Linked DNA regions of Homo sapiens: region 2 is linked to region 1. The links are contacts of gene promoters, found by promoter capture Hi-C in blood cells and fetal thymus (Javierre and others, 2016). All regions are on one chromosome and are shown on one strand. Each heading gives the region's core, a stretch centred on a gene start or on the middle of the fragment in contact. The rest is flanking DNA. Distances are from core to core; before and after follow the strand shown.

What was found. Contacts are between HindIII fragments. The CHiCAGO score rates a contact against its expected background, and 5 or more counts as called.
Region 2: the fragment with the promoter of SLC2A11 here is called in contact with the fragment with the promoter of RGL4 in region 1 in 2 of 17 cell types (total B cells and non-activated CD4 T cells); the score reaches 6.3 in total B cells.

What each region holds. Positions count from the first base shown.
Region 1 is chr22:23,689,339-23,695,659 of GRCh38, reverse strand. RGL4 (ral guanine nucleotide dissociation stimulator like 4) reads right to left here and starts at 4,647. Exons shown (of 11, transcript NM_153615.2): 1 at 3,451-4,647; 2 at 3,132-3,325; 3 at 2,669-2,991; 4 at 1,686-1,901; 5 at 1,210-1,313; 6 at 641-710. The coding sequence starts at 3,629. It also overlaps the pseudogene GUSBP11. RefSeq lists an enhancer at 1-240. The HindIII fragment of the contact is 11,564 bases long and covers 2,032-6,321 here.
Region 2 is chr22:23,856,453-23,863,187 of GRCh38, reverse strand. It overlaps SLC2A11 (solute carrier family 2 member 11), which reads right to left and starts at 5,313. Exons shown (of 12, transcript NM_001024939.4): 1 at 5,159-5,313; 2 at 986-1,084. The coding sequence starts at 5,188. The HindIII fragment of the contact is 21,043 bases long and covers 1-6,735 here.

The DNA of each region.
Region 1 (6,321 bases), core at 3,398-5,897:
GGGTGTCTGCAAAGGGCAGAGTGGGGAGTCCCAGCAAACAGCTACGTCTGTCCCCAGTATGCCCATTGGTACCCAAAGCTGGGCAGTTACTGGACTCCCTGCCACATGAGCTTCCTCTGTTGTTGTTCCCCCTCTCCCCCAGTGCAGGCCAAGGCCCCCTGCCCATGGAGGTGTGCTGCAGACAGCAGCAGCAGCAGCAGCAGCAGCAGCAGCAGCAGCAGAGGCCTGGCTTCCTGAGGAATTGCTGGCCGGTTTGAGGAAGGAAGGAAGTCCCACCTACCATGATCACCCTCCAGCCTGGAGGAAGCTCCATGCCAGCAGCATGGACCAGCATGGGAGCCAGAGCCCTGCTAATGCTGCAGCTCATCACCCCTGCTCAGCAGCCCAGCAGCCCAGCAGCCATTGCCACATCCCATTTCCAGGGCCTCCTGCCCCCATGCCCCCACGTGCCCATGGACCGACACACCACTCTTCCTGTTGGCCCAAGGTAGGCATGGAGGGAATTTTTCAAGTCCACTTTTAGTAGGTAAGTCAAAACCAAACAAAATAACCACTCGACACCTGGTCCAATGCCCTTCCAAACTCACTCTTTTCTCTGACCCTTAAACACTTGTCCTGCATCTCCCAGACTCCACTGTACCTTGATCAGTAGGTCCCTCTTCACTGCAGTGTCTTTTTTGCAGAGTTCTTTTAGCTCTTTCATGCTTTTGCTATGGGCAGAGGAAAGAAAGAAGGGTAAATTTGGGAATCAGGGGAGATTTGTGAGTTCCAGTCCCTTTTGTTTGAAAACCCAGTGAATCCCAGCTTACTGGGTGAGAGTTTTCAGTGGAGTCCTCTGATCACAGGGGCTCCAGAGGACCAGGGTGGGACCTCTCATGCTCCTCCCCTGGGCCCCATCTCCACTTCACATGAGCCACTGCGTGTTTACAGTTAGCTTTCAGCTGGACACAGAGTTCCACTGCTGGGTACAAACACCTGAAAGCCTCCAGTTGGCTCCAGTCTGTTCCTGATGGTTAAAAAACCTTAGTCCTGAGTTGGAAATCCTTGCCTAGGAGTCCAGGGCAGCTTAGTGACCACAGCCACCGGCCCATCCCTGCCTCCAGTGTCCCTGGACTCCAAGAACCTTTCAGAGTCATTGAGGGCACATGGGGGGAGACCTGTGAGTCCCTAGGTCAACCCTGATGCTGCCATGGAGAGAGCCCTCCTCACCTGGACACTCCTGCCCACGTCTTGTGTAGCTGACCTATTGGGTTGCTGCACAGAGCAGAGACGATGACGTGCACCGAGGAGAAGTTGTTGAGGCTTAGGCACTCCTGGAGAGGGAAGAATGAGCTGTGCGGTTCAGAGTTGGAGCTTGGCCCACTACAGCCTCAGCCCCCTCTGCTGAGATCTCCCCTCCTGGATGAAGCAGAGGCCTGGGGAGCCTCAGGAGGGCAGACCTGGGGCCGAGTGGATGTCACTCATCTAGGAGGATTTTAGTTCAACCCAAGGAAGACCCCAGGTCGGAAGTGAGCAGCCACCACTGGGCCGTGGGAGTCAAGGTGAGTGAAGCTCTGGCAAGAAGAGCCTAGGGGATGTGCAGGGTCCAGGCCAGAGATACAGATGCCGATCCTGAAAGCCGATGGAGGAGAAGAGGAAGTTCCCCATTTTTAAAGAGGGAATCCCCAGGCCCAACCATAGCTTACCCTGGCCACCTTGATCCAGTGCTCCACCACCCTGGCCCTGTCCCGGGCCCTCATGCTGTGGTCCCCGAGGCAGGAGGTGGTGATGCAGTTGGTGAGCCTGTTGAAGTGTGCGATGGTGGCACGAACTGTGGGTGCCATGTGCTCATTCCCCTTCAGATGTCCTTGGCCCCAGATGCAGCCCAAGCATTCGTGGAGCACCACCTTCTTGAACAGCTCCTTTGGGGGAGGAGGAGAGTGTCACGGACACAGCACACTGCAGCTCAGAGTCACCCACAGTCCCAGGCAGGGACTGAGCTCACAGTCATCCACGGTCTCTGGCAGGAACCAAGCTGGAGCTCAGAAAGCTTTAAAATGGGCTCCAGACTTGTGGGAGTCCCTGGGTTTGGTTTTCTGCCCCCGAGGGACCTGAATGCATCATGGCCTAGAACCCAACAAGGGTGGGAAGAGAGAGTGACATTTTCTCCCAGGCCATCCACACTCTAAGAACTAGAAGGTGGCTCAGGCCTGCCCATCCTGAGGCCTCGTCTTCCTCCCATCCCAATCAGCCCTCTACTACTCCTCTCCGTACCGGTGCACTTTCCTTGTGGCAGCTGCAACTATGGGCTCTGTTTGGGTGTCTACCATAGAATCCAGTATGCATCAGGTACCTAATAAGTGCTGAGGGTAGTGAGGCTCCTGAGCAGCTGGGTGAGTGACCCATGGCCCTGCCTGCCCCACAGTGAGCACCTGCCCTGCCCTGCTTTCTGTCCATCTCCTGTCACTCAGTCTGCACAGTCACTCTGTGCAGCTGGCGCTGGTGATGTCCCATCTCTGCCGTCCACATGCAGACAGGGAAGGCTTGTGGGTGAGGAAACTCATCCAGATCCCACGGTTGGTAAGAAGTGGGGCTGAAATTGGACCGAGGGCATTGGCTGCTCCTCAGGGAGAGGCTGGTCTGAGACAGCTGGTGCCAGAGACACAGCCTGCAAAGCTCAGCTGCTCACCGCATCCATGAGGGTCAGCTGCTCTGCCAGCAGCCTGGGAGGGAAGGTCGTCATGTCAGGCAGCTCCTCACTGGGTTGGTTCTTTACAGACCCACGACAGGGACAGGAGGACTCTGGGGCTGACTGTGGCTCCAGCACTGTCCCTGGAGGGGGCCCTTCCCCTGGTGCTGGTGCTGGCCCTGGTGCTGAATGTAGATATCCTGGTGGACCCAGGGCTGCAGGTGACTCTGGCTCCAGAGCAGGCCCCAGGTCCGCCAGCAGTGGTGGTGCTGGCTCCAGGGCCGGCATTGTTAATGCGTGTTGCCCAGGACGTGGAGCAGGATCTGGAAAAGGAGAAAAGGTCACCACACCAGTCATTTTTCACTGGGTTTTCCAAGCACAGAAATGACCGGGTGGAATTTAAGGGAATTGTAGCCCCAAAACACCACCCCCGGAAAGTCTTGCAGACTGCAAGCCCCCTCACCATCTGGCTTGGCCTCGTTGGGCTCCGGAAGCACCAACTGGCCTAGGACAATTTCCTGATGGTCCTCCAAGCCCAGTCCAGGCCAGGAGAGGTTCCTGAAGGCCAGCTTTATCCGGAAAGATGACCGTTGCGGGGGCTGATAGTAAACTGAAGTGTTTTCGGGGGGCCAGTTGAACAAAATGGAGGTGATGGTGCTGGTGATGGAGTAGACAGCTGAGTCAGAGGCCTGGCCTTCTCCCACACAACCCTCCAGGGCACCCCTGCGTGGTTCTGGGTCCCTGGCCTGTTGCTGCCAGTGTGGAGGACAGCCCCACCCTACCGTAAGCCATCAGTGCTGTCCTGGAAGGGGCAGACCTGGCCATACAGCAGGGCTGTACAGACCCTCGTGCGCCCTGGCGTCCCACAGACATTCTCTTCCCAAAGGCCCTGGAGCACAGCACTGTACACCTGGGCACTCAAGACTGCAGCTGCAGGCAGATTTGTGAGCAGCTTCCTCATCAAAGCTCCAGATCTGGGTCCCCTGGTCCTGGGGTTAGGAGGGAAGGGGCAGATGTCGGGGGGAGGAGGACAGGGAGAGCTGGGAAGCCACGGTGCTGAGGGGGATGGGTCTCTCAGTGGCCAGCTGTGACCCCAGCCTCCCCTCTGCTTTGCAGGGGACCTAAGTCTCCATTTACAGAACTCACTATTTGCCTCTTGTGGGGGAAGTCCCCAGATGTCAGCCTTCTCGTGGGAATTATAAGAAGTATGAGCCCCAGAGCTCCTTTAGTCTCTCCCCAGCCAGAGTCCACATATTTTCCCCCATGTTTTGTGGGTGAAAAGGCCCTTCAGAACCCTAAATCCACCCAGTTTATATTTGTTGCTGGGCTGCGTCATTCTAGTCAGAATCTGGGAGGATGCCACCATACGTAGAGGAGGCCATGAGGGTCTCACCTGTAACATTCTGTAGATATGACTTGTTTATTCTGTCTACTGTGAGTGCCTGACTCTGAGTAGAATCAAGGCCGGGGGATTGTCATCTGCTTTGTTTATGAAATTATGCCAAGCCCCAAGAAGAGCGATGCACAAATGAGGTGTTTTGAATGTATGTGTTGAATGAGTGAACCCCAACCTTTGGAGAACCCCAGTGAGCCTCTCCAGATGTCTGAGTGGGCCTGTGGCTCCTTTTTCAGCACCAAGGGACCCCTCTTCTGTCTGTGTCAAGGAGAAAGACCAGCCAGAAGGAATCTCAGACATCCTTTACCAGTGCCATCGCAGACTTGGTTTCTATGTGTTTTTCCAAACAGTGAGTGATACAGGCCATTGAGGCAGAATGCTGAGAGCTGCTTCAAGTGAGGGGGAAGAGAAAAGTAACAAACATGAATCACAGCACCCCCAGCAGATTTTCCAGAGTTTTAGGCTCTAGGGACCCCTTTGTTTGCTGTGTCTTAGATCATTGAGTCCCTACAAGAACCCTGTGAGGTTCGTCTTCTCACTACTCCCTGTTCCAGAGGAGCCAACCGAGGCTCCGAGAGGTGCATCTTCAAGACAGAGCCAGTAGGGGACAGAGGCACCTCTGTGTCTTGGAGGGGGATGGACACTCACCTTCTAACCAGTAGTTCCAAAAAGTGTGGCACAGTGATAAAGTCCCAGGAGGGGCCCAGGCAGGTGGCATAGGAGGAGATGGGTTTAGTTAGAAAGGCTGGAACCAGGGACTCCCAACAGCTTCTCCCCAGTGCCGGGCTGGAAAGTTAGCATCCTGCAGATCTCATTTTCATACTAGGGGGACAAGGAGGGACATGGGAGTCAGTGGTAACACCATGGACCACCAGAGGATCGGGATCTGGAACTCACACCAAGAAGCACCAACCCTTCAGGGACTTGTGCATATGGAGAACCTGGGTGCCCATGGTGAAAAGCGTTCTAGGCTTTCAAAGTAACATTGCATGTGAGGATGGAGAATGATAAAACGATTCCTGCCTTCAAGGCATCGTCCCGGTGTTTGTCAGCTGTGGGGCAACAGCACCCTCTGTGTCAGCAACCTGCATGAAGAGCATCATCCCTGCAAGTCCTCAAGGCCTGGGGAGGCCTCATCCCCTCCTCATTTCAGCAACAGCACACAGGACAATACGCTCTAGAAGAACTCTTTGACTTAAAGGTATATGATTGTTTTTGTTCCTTTAACATGAACGTGAGTCTGGAGAAACAGCTACGGCCATCCCAGCCCTGGCCAAGGGGAAAATGCCGGAAGACTCCAGGGTGGGAGGAAGCGCGTCCCAAGGCCCAGGATCTGCGAGGCGACTTGGGGAAAACGCAGGCAGGTATTGAACCCGTGAAAGGTTACGCAAATGTATGTTTGAAAGTGGAAATGAAACAAGGATTTTCTCTGCCACACAGACAGCAGGTTGGCGAAAAGTTAAAAGCGTGTTAGTATTCAGGGGAGGCTGCGTTCAGAGAAGCAGCTACCTTCAGAGGCTGCTGGTGACCGTGTGACCAGCTGGAGCCCTTTTGGAAAGTCAACTAGCTAGAGCTGTTGAAAGTTGATATCTGCATATCCTTTCACCCAGATATCCCTTTCCTGGGTGTCTGTCTGCTGCAGGGGATTTGTTTATTTTATGGGTTGAATTGTGTCCCCTTCCCCAAATGTAACTGTTTCTATTCTCAACCCCAGAGACTCAGAATGTGACTGTGTCTGGACACAGAGTACTCCAAGAGGTAATTCAGGTGAAGTGAGTTCATTAGGGTGGCCCCTAATTTAACATGCCTGGGGTTCTTACAAGGAGAGGGGGTCAGCGCACAGAGAAGTTCAAGAGAAGACCCTGTGCTGACTGAGATAGAAGTCCGCCATCTCCAAGGCAAGGAGAGAGGCCCAGAGAAACCACCCCAGGCTGACAGTTTGACGTTGGACTTCCAGTCTCCAGAATTGTGAGGAACCAGATTTCTGTGGTTAAGCCCTTCAGTCAGGGTGCCGTGTTATGGCAGCCCTGGCAAACTGCTCCAGCCTATTAGGACACGCATAGGATTATGCTCCTTGTAGAAAGGCTGCCTCGAAAGGGAATTTTATCATGACAGGCTCCACCAGCACTGAGAGGCTGACCCGCTGTGGAAAATGGCCTCCCTTAAGGAATGTTACAATGACATGCGAGGGTACAACTCCTGCCTGATGGGGCTGCAGGGATGAGTTCTGTGAGATGACACTTTAAAGACTAATGCA
Region 2 (6,735 bases), core at 4,064-6,563, 170 kb before region 1:
CCTCCGTGGAAGGAGGCTTAGAGGAAGGGCTGTGTCATAGGTATTTGAGGAACTATACTTAACTTGCTTTGGTATCAGGGTTGGGGGAGCGAAGGTGTGAGACAGTGAAACCGAGGGGTTCATTTGGTCAGGTCTGCCTGCCCTGCTTGCTTTTTAAAATTTCTTCTTCCTTTTTCCATGAAGCTGAGGCCGTGATAGCTCAAGGCTTCACCGCTGAACACGGAAACTTAATCTCCACTGGCTACTTTATAAATAACATTGATGAGACCGGGCACGGTGTCTCATGCCTATAATCCCAGTACTTTGGGAGGCTGAGGCAGGCGGATCACATGAGGTTGGGAGTTTGAGACCAGCCTGACCAACAGGGAGAAACCCCGTCTCTACTAAAAATACAAAATTAGCTGGGCATGGTGGCACATGCCTGCAATCCCAGCTACTCGGGAGGCTGAGGCAGGAGAATCGCTTGAACCTGGTAGGCGGAGGTTGTGGTGAGCCAAGATCATGCCATTGCACTCCAGCCTGGGCAACAAGAGCGAAACTCCATCTCGAAAAAAAAAAAAAATTTCTGAGCAGGGGAGTGACTTGAAGAGATCAAGGTGGGGAGAGGCTGAAGGCAAGGAGGCCAGTGAGGAGGCTGGGCCAGAACTGGGAATGTGGTGGAAACATGGGGAGAAGTGGCTGGATTCCAGAGGTAGTTAGGAAGGACTTAGTGTCCAAGAGATGAAGAGAAGAGTCAAGGCTGACCCCCCATCACTAGGTGGAAGATGGAGTCATCTGCTGAGATTAGGGACTCAGGAGGACATGCAGGTTTGGGGAAGATGTATGCTCAGTTTGAACCTGCAGGAACCTGTGGGCCAACCCAATGGAGACAAACTTGTGGCAGAAAGTGCCACCTAGTGGATGCCTGGCTGAAGCCCCTCAGTGGGCAGCTGTTAGCCAGTACCCACTCAGACAGGGACAGTCTCCACCCAGAGAGGATACATACCAAGGTCGGGGCATTGATGATAGAGAGGTTATAGCCAAACTGAAAAGTCCCACCAATGCCGGCAGCGCAGATGGTCAGGAGCAGGATCCTGCCCTGAATCTGAGGAGAGAGGAGAGAACACAGAGTGACCAACAACAGCCTCCACCCCCTCCCTGGACCAGAGCTGCCAATCACAGCATTGCAATTTATTTGAATCAGGCAGTGATGTCTCCACTTTGCAGATGAGGAAAGTGAGGCACAGAGAGGAGTTACCTGGGTCACATGGCTGGCAGGTAGCAGAGGAACCCAAGCCTCCTGTTCTGAGTCCAGGACCCCACTTTACCCTCACCCCACCCATAGCCCCAACATTTCCCTGAGCTGGAGAGCGGTTCCCATCCCTCCTTGTTGGGCTGCCCCTGAGCACGTCTGCTGTGTTTGGGGAAGACAGTCCCCTGAGCTGGGGCCCCAGTAGAGTAAGGCTCTGCCTCCAGCAGGACAGGAGCCTCTGACTTGCCCCAGGAAAACCTTCTCCAACAGAGTGGCCAGGCTCCAGGAATCTGGGCTGAGCCACCTCTCTTACCTCCCACCAGCATGTTCTGCAATGAGGCTAAGAGAAGATGCCACATGGACCTGCAGGTGCAAGGACTTGGGGACATATGAGTAGTAGAGAGGCAGCATAAATGGCCCAGGTGCCTGGTCCCTATCCCAGCTCTCCCCTTCCTTTCTCATCCTAAGTGACTTCCTTACCTGGACCTGCAGATAATGAAGCCTACTTCTAGGCTGGGTACCCATGAGTCATGCACACTTGGTACACAAAAGGACAGTGAAACACCCTTAGAGATGGAGGGAGAATTCCCCAAGGCATCCCTGATGCCTCATCCTTTGTAGTTGGGATAGTTGGGATTTTCTTTTTTTTTTTTTTTTTTTTTTTTTGAGACTGAGTCTTGGCCTGGCGCAGTGGCTCACACCTGTAATCCCAGCACTTTGGGAGGCCGAGGCGGGTGGATCACAATGTCAGAAGTTTAAGACCAACCTGGCCAAGATGGTGAAACCCCATCTCTACTAAAAACACAAAAATTGGCCGGGCGCAGTGGCTCATGCCTGTAATCCCAGCACTTTGGGAGGCCGAGGCGGGCGGATCACGAGGTCAGGAGATTGAGACCATCCTGGCTAACACGGTGAAATCCCGCCTCTACTAAAAATACAAAAAATTAGCCAGGCGTGGTGGCGGGCACCTGTAGACCCAGCTACTGGGGAGGCTGAGGCAGGAGAATGGTGTGAACCCGGGAGGCGGAGCTAGCAGTGAGCCGAGATAGCGCCACTGCACTCCAGCCTGGGCGACAGAGCGAGACTCCGTCTCAAAAAAAAAAAAAAATTAGCTGGGCGTGTTGGCAGGCGTCTGTAATCCCAGCTACTCGGGAGGCTGAGGCAGAGAACTGCTTGAACCCAGGAGGTGGAGGTTGAGTGAGACTCCGTCTCAAAAAAAAAAAAGAGACGGAGTTTTGCTCTGCCGCCCAGGCTGGAGTGCAATGGCGCAATCTTGGCTCACTGCAATCTCCGCCTCCCAGTTCAAGCGATTCTCCTGCCTCAGCCTCCCGAGTAGCTGGGATTGCAGGCATGCACCACCACACCCAGCTAATTTTTGTATTTTTAGTAGAGACTCCTGACCTCAAGTGATCTGCCCACCTCAGCCTCCAAATTGCTGAGATTACAGACGTGAGCCACCGCACCCGACCTGTAGTTGAGGTCGTCTTAGGGATTCACAGAAGTATTTATCTTTCTCCTTTGGTGATTTTCTGTTTTGTTTTTTGAGACAAGGTCTCATTTTGTCACCCAGGCTGGAGTGCAGTGTCGCAATCTTGATTCACTGCAGCCTCAACCTCCTGGGCTCAAGCGATCCTCCCACCTCAGCCCCCCAAGTAGCTGGGACTACAGGCACACACCATCATGCTGGGCTAATTTTTTTGTAGAGATGGGATTTCACCATATTGCCCAGGCTGGTTTCAAACTCCTGAGCTCAAGCGATACACTCGCCTTGGCCTCCCAAAGTGGTAGGATTACAGGCGTGAGCCACCATACCCAGCCCACTCTTTTGTGATTTTTAATTACAAAATGACACGTTTGTTAAGATTTTTGAAAATTCAGTATATACTGAAAGTTCTCCACTCCTCCAAAGGCACAACAATTAACTCCTTCCCTCAGGTATTTTCCTAGATATTTGCAAAGTAGTTGACTTTACAAAAATTGAATCGTTGATATCTTCCCCCAAAAAATACTGCCTTTCTTGTTCTGGCAAATTGTTCTGTAGAATTAAATGTATTATTTTTGAAAACTTTGATACAATTTTCATGACAGAAGGATGTTTGGCTAAGGTTTTCTGAAGTTTCCAGAACCTACGGACTATTTATTCATTTATTAGTCAAATACTGAGTGTTGGCCGGATGTCGTGGCCCACACCTGCAATCCCTGCACTTTGGGAGGCCGAGGTGGGCAGACCACTTGAGGTCAGGAGTTCGAGACCAGCCTGGCCAACATGGTAAAACCCTGTCTCTACTAAAAATACAAAAATTAGCCGGGCTTGGTGGTGGGCACCTGTAATCCCAGCTACTCAGAAGGCTGAGGCAGAATTGCTTGAATCCGGGAGGGAGGCGGAGGTTGCAGTAAGCCCAGATCGCGCCACTGCCCTCCTGCCTGGGCAACAGAGTGAGACTCCATCTCAAAAAAAAAAAAATGCTGAATGTTTATCTCAGCCAGGAAGTGTGCTGGGGGGCAAGATACAGCTGGGAAAGAGACAGCTGTGCTTTCACCATTCAGTGAGATACTGCACTGGAGGCTGGGGGAGCAGAGGAAGTGGCTCTGGAGGGCAGAATCCTGCTGAAGGCCTTGCCATAGGTCTGGAGACAGGTTGGTGACAGGGGCCCTGGCTGCCCATAGTTCCAATAAGGCCTAAGTAACTTTCTCTAAGGCTGGAAGCCTTAGGAAGAAGCCAGGTGAGAAACCTGGCATCTGGTCCCATTGAGGCCAAATTACAGCTCCACGGGGGCCGCATGGAAGTGAGAGCTCCCTTAAGACAGCAGATGTGAAGGAAGCAGCGAACACAGTGCTTGATGGCAGCTGAGCTCATGTAGCAGGAGATATTGACAGGTCTCTAAGACTACAGGAAATCGTTGAATTCAATGAGATCATGCATGGAGATTGCCTATACCGTGCCTGGTCATGGTAAGCATTCAGACATTAGCTACGATAGGGACCATTAATTCAGCAAACAAAGATTTATTGCCTCCCTATTATGGTCAATAATCCTACTGTTCTAGGTGTTGGGATACAGCAGTGAACAACAGACAAAATCCATGAGCTGTCAGAGCTTTCCTTCCAGCAGAGAAAGACAAGCAATCGCAAAATGAACAAGCAAAATATATAGTACATCAGCTGGTGCTACAGAGACTTAAAGCAGTGAAGGGGCGTAGGAAGTGTTTGGACCAGGTGGTGCTATTTTATTTTATTTTATTTTATTTTTATTTTTTAGAGACAAGGTCTCGCTACGTCGCCCACGCTGGAGTGCAGTGGTGAGATCCTATTAGATCCCTGCAGCTTCGAACTCCTGGGCGATCCTCCCACCTTAGTTGGTGCTATTTTAAATAAGGCTGTCAAGGAATACAAGTGCAAATCAAGACAAAGGAGGTGAGGGAATGTGCCATGCAAATACCTAAAGAAATCAGTCCAGATTGGGAAGGAACCCCTAGAAGCGGTGGGCAGTGCAGTGCGGGCGCTCTCCTCTGGCTGCGCCCTTTCCCTCTGTGAGGCAGGACGTCAGGTCAGAGCTGAGGGAGCATGAGGAGGAAAGAGGCGGGGGTGGGAAACAGTCTCGGGAGGGGGCGAGCAGTCAGGATTGCAGCGCTCGGAGGGCTTACTGCCTCTGAGGTCAGGGCTGATCGGCAGAGGATTTAGCATCTCTGGGGGCTGGGATGCCAGGGTCCAGCAACCTTGCTCTGGCCCACAGGCCGACCCTGGGCGTAAACACCTGCCTATGCACATCTGAGCCTAGCACCTAACGCCACTGTACATACAAGCACGATATTTTTGAACATTTGACGACTTAGTTAAGCCTCCCAGGTGGCTGCACCTGCGCAGTTCACTCAGGTCCGCAATCCCTCATCTGAAACGCCTGGTCTGGGCAAGTATGAGAATTCATACCATTCTAGATCGCAGGAGGGCGTGGAGCATTCGAAAGAGGGGCCTGAGCGGAGGTCTTGCTGTCCCAGGGAGACCCCGGCTGCCATTAGCAAGCGGTGAGCCGGCAGCCTGTGCGCGGAGGGAAGGGCAGCGCGCAGCGCCCAGTGGTGAAAGAGGCGCTAGCGCACGCGCAGTGAGCGTTTGAGAGGAGCAAACCCGTCGAGACGAAGCTGTAGCGCAAGCGCAGTGGGTATTGAGAGCGGCCGCACCAGCTGAGGGTTCGCGCAACGCTAAACGATGGCCGGGACTAAGGCCTGAGACTCAAGCTCAGGCGCAGTGAAGCGCAGAGCCGCTAGAGTGTCGCGGAGGGCGCCTGAGGCGCATGCGCGGACTCAGCGTTTTTAAGAAGGGCTGGGGGTGCTGGGGAGTTCGCCCCAGCGTGTTGGGGGGGAGTCGCCGCCGCGGGGGGGGGGTTTGGGGTCACCGCCGCGGGGTTTGTCGCCGCCGCTGGGAGCTCACCTGCGTCCGAGGCCGTAAGGACGGCTCCAGTTCATCCTCCATCCGCCTCTGCCGCAGCACTGAGGCTGAAAAGCCGCTCACTCCTTACTCGGCTAAGCCCCAAGCTCATCTCTGCAGGCCGGAAGGGAGCTCTGGTCCAAGGTCATCTCGGCCAAGCCCCTGCATTCGCCCTCGCAAGTGCCAGCAAGCGACTCTGGTCGCCGCGCTCCCAAGTCCTCCCCCGAAATTCCGGCTCTGGCCCCTCGTCCCCCTCCTTTGCTACAGTCTCTGGACTAAATGTCTGCGGGTCTCTGTCTCTCGCTGGTCTGACCTCAGCCGCAACCCTGCGCGATTCCCTGCGCCGGTCGCCACTGCCGGCCGCCAGAACCTCGGAGGCCACTGCCCCTGGGCGTTCTCCGGAGGGCCAAGCCCTTGGTTGTGCACATCTATGCACGCCCCACCTACACCCCCCCCCCCCCACACACACACACTTTGGTTCAGGTATCCCCGACCTTTCCCCAGAGGACGGGAAAATTAGGAAAGACCGAAAGATAGACCCACCAGTCTTCGGAGCGCTCTCATCTGTGCGTCCTGGGCAGAGCGAGAGACTTGGCGGAATGCGGGTAGGAGAACCGGTCTCGGGTTGCCGCCAGGGGATCCATTGCGTGAGAGGCAGGTCCGACTTATGCTGGGGGCACTTGGAGTTGAGGAACCACAGAGTCCACTGAACCGGATTAATCTTTTATCCCTCAGGGCTTCTCAGGCCCTGCATGGAGGAATCCAGGAGCTGGACAAAGACCAACTGAAACTAGACTTGCCAAAGATGCTATTTGTGGTCACAGAAACATAGAGCTGGACATGACCTTAAGAAGTCACCTGAGCAGACACTGTGATGGGCACTGTAGTAGCTCTATTGCTCAGACTTGGTTTTTGTTTGACTTTTGCTGCTCTGAACTTTAATTCCTAAAAACACTGCATTTTTAAGGAAAAACACAAAATATTAGCAGTTATAATAAATAGGTATTTTATTGCATGCTTTTCGTGCATCTATTAAGATGATCATATGGGTATTCTCCTTTAATCTGTTAATGAGATCAGTT